Linked DNA regions of Homo sapiens: region 1 is linked to region 2. The links are contacts of gene promoters, found by promoter capture Hi-C in blood cells and fetal thymus (Javierre and others, 2016). All regions are on one chromosome and are shown on one strand. Each heading gives the region's core, a stretch centred on a gene start or on the middle of the fragment in contact. The rest is flanking DNA. Distances are from core to core; before and after follow the strand shown.

The links. The method cuts DNA at HindIII sites, captures the fragments that hold promoters and counts their contacts. A CHiCAGO score of 5 or more calls a contact.
Region 1: a fragment that was not itself captured here is called in contact with the fragment with the promoter of CSTF2T in region 2 in 1 of 17 cell types (megakaryocytes); the score reaches 7.0 in megakaryocytes.

The regions. Positions count from the first base shown.
Region 1 is chr10:51,008,150-51,011,856 of GRCh38, forward strand. It overlaps a transcript of PRKG1 not described here. Among named protein-coding and RNA genes, the nearest start is that of PRKG1, 64 kb to the right of the region's middle. The HindIII fragment of the contact is 249 bases long and covers 1,144-1,392 here.
Region 2 is chr10:51,697,531-51,701,297 of GRCh38, forward strand. CSTF2T (cleavage stimulation factor subunit 2 tau variant) reads right to left here and starts at 2,065. Exons shown (of 1, transcript NM_015235.3): 1 at 1-2,065. The coding sequence starts at 2,019. The coding sequence ends at 169. The region is part of intron 3 of PRKG1 (protein kinase cGMP-dependent 1); the gene reads left to right. RefSeq lists enhancers at 1,753-2,332, 2,457-3,145 and a silencer at 2,899-3,193. The HindIII fragment of the contact is 5,025 bases long and covers 1-3,077 here.

The DNA of each region.
Region 1 (3,707 bases), core at 18-2,517, 690 kb before region 2:
GTAGTACGTATAAACATCTCTTGGGTTCCATTTGTTGCAGTGAAGACTCCTAGGCCCATCTCCAAAGATTCTGGCTTAATAGGTAGGCTTGGGGAATTTGGGACCAGGAAATTTGCTATAACTCCTTGAGAAGTAGCTTTCTAGGTATATACTGCAAGAAGGGTGACTATATGCATTCATTTCTTAGTTCTGCTGGAACACATCGCCACAAACTGGGTGGCTTCAAGCAACAGAAATTTATTTACTCCCAGCTCTGTAGACTAGAAGTTCGAATTCAAGGTGTCAGCAGAGCCATGCTCTTTCTGAAAACCCTAGGAGAGGAGCTTCCCTTGCCTCTTTCTAGCTTCTGGTGGTTGCTGGCAACCTTAACCATTCCATGACTTGGACTTGCATTCCAATCTTTGCCTTCATTTTCACATGGTTGTCTTTTCTCTGTGAGTATGTGTGTCTAAATTCCCCTCTTGTAAGATTACTAGTCATTCAATTTGGGGCCCACCCTAATCCAATATGATGTCGTCTTGATTACATCTATAAAGATGCTGTGTTCAAATAAGGTCACAGTTGTACCATACACCTGTATTTATCTTCCTTCAAGCCCAAGATATGGAGCTGTGACTTCTGAAGTCTGCTGAGCCCATGGAAAAAAAAGATTTTGGATGAGATGAAGAGAGTAAAGGACACATTTAGGTATTTATGATACAAGGTTTTGTGGAGGCTTTTTCACCTGCCATTTCCATCTGCCCTCCCTCCTTCTCCCATTTTCTTATTTTTCAAAGGATATGGTGTTGATTGATTGTCCTTTGGTTCAGATGAAAGTATTAGTCTCTGGTGGCTCCATGAAATGTCACACATCTCTGATGGTTTGTGGTTCTCTTGTTTTCATGGTATGAGTTTTATAAGGATTTATAGGGAAACAAAATTGGGCTTAAAATGTGAGACAACTTCTGTAGACTGTAGTTTTCTTACCTGTAATTTTAGAAGGAAAAAAAACCCTTCTATGCTATAATTTCAATGCCTTAATTCCCTATAATTTTGGTAACTTGTTTCTTTAGGGTTACAAAGAACAAATGGAATAAACCACAAATAGATATATTAGGATAAAGATAGATTTTCTTTGGTGTATTTATCTAACTAATTTAGAAAAGCTTTAAATGCCAATTAAATTATACATTTTGAAACACAGTTATATTTAGGGATAAACTATTTTTAAGTTAACATTATTCTCTGCATTTAAAAGTAGAATTTAAATAGTTCTCCCACCTCCACCTCAATCTAAGGTGCACACACATACTTTTAGCTTTACTAGAGGGTTTTTGTTAATGTAGTCTATAACAGAAATTGAGGATTTCTGTTATGGTATTTCTATTTTACTATCATACCACTGAAAAGTTAAGCTTTCTCTTAAGAATATAAGAAAAATTTAAGAGACAGCATGAGCTAGTTGAATAGTCTTATTAGTGAATTAGTTTTATATAAAATAAATTATACAATGGACATTCCAGTTATCATCTGAAAATATAATTTAGAAATTTATGATAATATATTTCTTTCTGGGTCTATTTAATTCAGAAACATTCTCATACAAGGTGGTTCAAAGAATCCAGATTTCTGGGAATGGTTTTGGACTTCTTGAAGATATAAAATATTTGACAATGCATTGTTCAATATGGAATCGTACTTTTGGAAAGAAAATCTGCCAGAACATTCATGCTACCCAGAGAGAAGTATCATTCTCCATTCTCCTCAAAATTGTATCTTCTTTGCTTTGATTCTCATACGCCTGCTATCAGAGATTTTGGAAAGTTTCTCTTCTCTTTATTGTAAAAGATCTCAGGTATAATTCAAATGGTTATTTCATTTTATAGAAACTTTACTGGAAATGTCCAAGTGCCTTCAGCAGTGGAAGGAGGGGTCAGGAGAGGGTGGCTCCACTGGGAAGCATGATTGGCCTCTGATTTGTGGGAATTTTCCAGGGCCATTGTTTGTGCGAAGTTGTGTTAAGAATGTAGGTTGAAAGGTAGATGTGGAATTCCATGGAGCACGTGCAGAAAAGCGAATTCTACTACCCAGCGTAAATCATTCGCTCTACATTAAGCATCTTTGCCAATTATTTGGGTGAGGCCATTAATGGCATCTCACTCAGATTTGCACAGGGCAAGATGCTGTGAGGATTGCTTATTATGTTGGAAAACAGAATCAAGATCCCAAAAGATTATGATGGGCAAGAGTAGTGATTTATAACCCTATTTCAGACAATGCTTTCCTTTTCATACCAGATATTTCCTAATGCTCCCTCACTATGCTGAAATTAAATTCATCAATAATATAACCCATCTGCACACATAATTGTGTGTATCTATGCATATATATATATGTGGTATCCTAACTATAATATAAACAAAAGATAGGGGAACATGTATCATGAAATAATACTTGCTTTAGTAAGTGCTTGAACTGTCCAAGTTGGAGATGATTGCTGGAAAAGGGCTACACAGTAAGTTGAACTGAAGATGTGAAGTGCTTGTTCCTAATCCTGAAATCATTTGATGTAACAACTGAAAACAAATACTAGTACTGATGTGTTTTACAGGTTACTCTGGTGCCACTGGTGGTGTTTGTATCAAGTGACTCAGTTTTCCAAAGTGATGAACATCTCTCTGTAAAGTTTTTAACAAAATAAAGTACTCTCTTTCCTTAATTTACATTTTTGTTGAATTTACAGCAAACTTAATTTATAGCCACGCAAAAATAAATACTTGGTTTACATGTAAGACAGACTTTGATTCTAGGCTTAGATAATATGTACAGATTTTTCTCCTGCCTGAATGGCTGGTGAGAGATTTGAAGGCACAGGGGTTGAAGGATAATTATTCAAATTGTGGGATTCTCCAGTGGATCCTAGCACATCATAACTAAAAAGCACCAATAAATTTCCTAAGTTACCACAAGGGGGCAGTAACGCCCCCACTGAGAATCACTGGGCAAATGGTGTTTCTTAGCCTTGCAACTATGGATATTTTGAATTTTGGATCAGAGAATTATTTGTTGTGTGTGTGTGTGGGTGGGGAGGGGGCGGTGTTGAGGGGAGAGAGTGCTGTCCTGTGTATTTTAGAATGTTTAGCAGCATCTTGGACTCTACCCACCAGTAACACCAGTAATACTCTACCCACCAGTAACAGCCCTCCTGACCACCAGTTAGGGCAACCAGAATGTCTCCAGACACCACCTCTTGTTCCATGGTGGGTAAATTCACCCGCAACTGAAATCACCAAACAAAATAAAAAAAATGTTTAACGAAGAATTAATGGAAAAATTTTCCCTAGAAACCTTGAAACTTCATACTTAGAAGTAACCTCATAGAAGCATTTTTGAAAAGATTTAGGATTTGTCTATAAGTAATTTATGAATCAACCAGGAGAAATGGCTGCCAAAAATTATTTAATGATTGATTTATATACATAAACATATCAACATTTAAGTGCCTAAATTTATTTTATTTGGTTTGACTCCTGTTTTAGTCAATAAAGGATTTGCAGCCACTTAATCAAAAATATAGAATCACTAATGGAAAATGTGCCATTCTTGCCTTACTCTGGGTTCAGTTGTGGTTACTTTAACAGGGACAGTTATTTGTATATTTGAGGAAAGGTAGTTCATGGCTATCAGTCTATTCTCATGCTGCTGATAAAGACGTATTGGAGATTGGG
Region 2 (3,767 bases), core at 815-3,314:
AAAAAAAAGGAAAACAGAAAGAAAGAAAAAGAACAAAAAATAAGATTAGGTTCTAGGAGGAGGGAAACCCTAATCCAAGTGTGGGGATACAGAAGTCAGCTTTTTGCACCCATTCTCCATGCTACAGAATAAAATTTGAGACTACAGCCAAATATTTTCTAAAACCTTTCAAGACGCTCCAGTGGATTTCTGGATTTGTTCCTTTAAAATCAGGATACTCTGCCTTTGCTCAGGGGGCAGCATGGCAATCTGATCTGCAGTCAGTTGAAGAACCTGCATGATCAAAGCTGCCTTCTCCTGATCCTGTGGAGTGACCTGGCTCTGCCCAGGACTAAAACTGCTAGGCTGGCTTCCACCTTGCTTGCTTGCCCCCTGTATACCTCCTCCTTGTATACCTCCTCCTTGTATACTGACTCCTTGTATGCCTGCCCCCTGCATCCCTCCTCCTTGTATGCCTGCTCCCTGCATGCCTGTTCCTTGTATGCCTGTACCCTGCATACCAGCTCCAGGATTCCCCACCCCTGAAATGCCTGGGACCTGTCTGGGTCCCTGAGGAGGGCCACCTGCCCCTATATTAATGGGACCAGGACCCTGAATTCCACCAGTCATAGGGCCTCTTGAACTGGGGACAGGGCCCCTCATCTCCAATCCTCTTGCATCCATGCCCCTTGCTTCCATCCCTCTGGTTTCCATCGCACAGGTCTCCATTCCTCTCCTCTCCATTACACGTGTCTCTAAGACCTCAGTTTCCATGGCACGAGTCTCCATCGCTCGAGAATCTCTACCACCTCTACCATCCATAGGTAGACCCCTTTGATCTATCATGGGGCCTCTGGGCTCTCCAATTAGCAGTCTGGGATCTCCTAATGGCCCTCCCCTCATCTCATGTGAGGAAGGGCCACGAGTGTCATGACCAGAGGCATGATGCATGGGGGGACCCTGATGGGGTGGACCCAGATAACCTCTGGGCTCCACTTCTCCAGTGACTGAAAGCAAAGTCCCTCCACGTGGGTCATTTGGAGCATCTCCTAACAGTCCTCGAGGAGGCAGACCACCAGGAGTCACGGGTCCGCGAGGTATAGGAGCTCTAGGATCTGACATCTGCACTTGTCCCCGCTCTAAAGGCACTGGGCCAACCCCTGGCATTCCAAGTTGGGGCTGCATTGCTCCTCCAGGAGTTAAGGAACCAGGACCAGCTCCGGGAACTGCAGCTGGTATTGGCCCTGGAGCTGGAATTCCACCCTGGATAGGAGTCTGCATCAGAGGAGGAATGTCCTTCACAGGTCTTCTAGCCAAATGCTGAGGCTGAGGAGCTGGAGGATTCTGCTGGTTCAGCAGAACATTAGGTCCTGGGCAGAGCCCAGGGCCAGGGCCAGGGCCAGGGCCAGAGACAGACACAGACTGAGATTTGCCTGGGATCAGTGGTGTGACATGTATCTTCCGATGCAGAATTTTCAGAGCAATCTCTGGATCCATGATTCTCATCACTACTTGTGCCTGCAACAGTGCATAAGCCAGTTGTGGATTTTGAAGTAACATGTTTCGAGCTTCCTGGTGGCTGTTTTGGACACAGAGCTTCATCTGCTTCATCAGCTCAAACATCTGCTCCGGGGGGAGACTGGCTACTGCTCTGGTAATCGATTCAGGGGCATCTTCTGGATCGATGGGATCCCCATAGGGTGAGTCAATAATGGGCGCTGCAGGCCCAAGGCTCTTTAACTCCTCCTTATTCTTTTCACTGGCAGCATTGTCCACCCGAAGCGCTCTCCCACTGAACTCCCGCCCATTGAGGTTCCGCATGGCACTAAGCGCGGTCTCCTGGTCTTGGTATTCGCAGAAGCCATAGCCCTTGGGTTTTCCCGTCTCTCTATCGTATACCAGCCGGAAACTGACAACAGAACCAACCTCCGAGAAAATGTCCTTTAACTGCTCCTCAGTTGCCTCATATGGAATGTTCCCCACGAACACGGAACGCAGTGATCGATCCATTGCCGGGTCTCTCACCGCCAAACTCGACATGATTCCGGTTGTGCAGACAGCCGATAGCGGATTCTTCGAGGCGTCTGTCCTCTTGCGACCGACACTTCCGCTGAGCAACGGAAGCGGCTTTCAAGATCCGGGCAGAAACTTTACTAATTCGCTTGAATCGTTCCGCTTGCCTGTGGAACCTGCATCCCACTAACAACTTATCTAATGCTTTCAGTCCCTGATCCTTCATGGTTCTGTCAGCTTCTTATTACAGAGTCGCATGATTCCTTTCCCATTTCACGTTCCGCTGACTTTCTGTGGGGCCCCAACAGCCCCACTACGACACGCTTGGTACGAGATGACCACAGTAAAGATGGCCGCATAGACTTCACCGTAGTAACTGGGAGGGGACTCTTCCCTTGACGTCAAAGGCGGTTTTGCTTCCGTTCCGCTGGCGGGAAACCGCCAACCGAAAGCGGATTTAAGGCGGCGTGTTTTTCGTTCTGACAAAGTATTTTCATGTGGCCTTTTATTATAGTATAGTTAAGCTAGATTTAAAATCACATTCCAGACTGAGGGAAAAGCGTAGTCGTTTCAGCACATTTGAGATTTGCCCCTTAAACTAAAACAGTATTATATCTCCTTTTTAGAACAACGTTTTTGGAAATTAACTGACAAGAAATATAAACTGAAGCGTGTGCCGGCTGGGCCCTGCCCCCATTCTGTTGCTTCCTATAACCGCTGTTAATGGATGGGTGGCAGACCCTTCTAGGTTTTTCCTGAGCACACGGGCAGCCGTCGTGCTATTCCTAATATTACGGTTTTCTTCCTTAATAACAACCGATTTCAATATTAATTGGTGATTAAATAAATTAGTGATTAATTAGTTATTAGTATTTTATGGCTTCAGAGTATGGAATAAAGAAATTTACTTAACTATCCCTACGTTGATTGGTTCTGATTTTTATTATATCATGCAGTGAGTCCACCACTTCCATGAAGGGAGAAACAAATAGCGGGTGTTTGTCTTCTGCTGTTAGCTTTGCAGGTAGGAGTTAAAACATATTCAGTGTGGTGTTTCCCCGCCTGCAATTCGAAGCTAGAACTGAAGCTTGGAGAGGGCTAGGTAAATTCCCAAGGACAAGCAGCTGGAAAGAGGCCAAGTCAGGATTCTAACCCAGCTTGGTCTCGCATAGCTCCAATTCTACACTGCCTTACGTGTATTGAATATATGAAATGAAGCTAGTGTGATTGAAGAAATGAATTTTAAATCTCATTTTTTATTTAAATATAAAAACTAATGTTCAGTAAGCTATTGGAAAACTTTTTTAGTATTTAGAACAACTTGGATATAGAATCTACTTTTGCAATAATAAATTGTGTTCTAAATAAAAATCATTTTGAAGAACACTAAGACAAAAAATAAAAACAAATAAAAAGAAAGTATTTCCAGTCAAAATTTAACATACTGGTTGAGGTGTGCCATACATGTAACATACATGAAAGATTTTAATGATCAAATACAAAAAAAGTAAAAATAGCCCATCAATTTTATATTTTTTATAAGTCGAAATGTAATATTTTTATATATTTGAGTAAAAAATTATTTTGAAGTTAATGTTATTCATTTCATTTTACTTTTTTAAATGTGGCTATTAGAAAATTTAAAATTATATGGATAGATTGCATTATACTTCTGTGGACTGGACTGCTCCAAGCCTGTGCTTTAATTCCAAAACAGAGAATTATTTTATTCTGAAATATGCCTCTTAAGTGGATTATGAAACTTTTAAATTTCA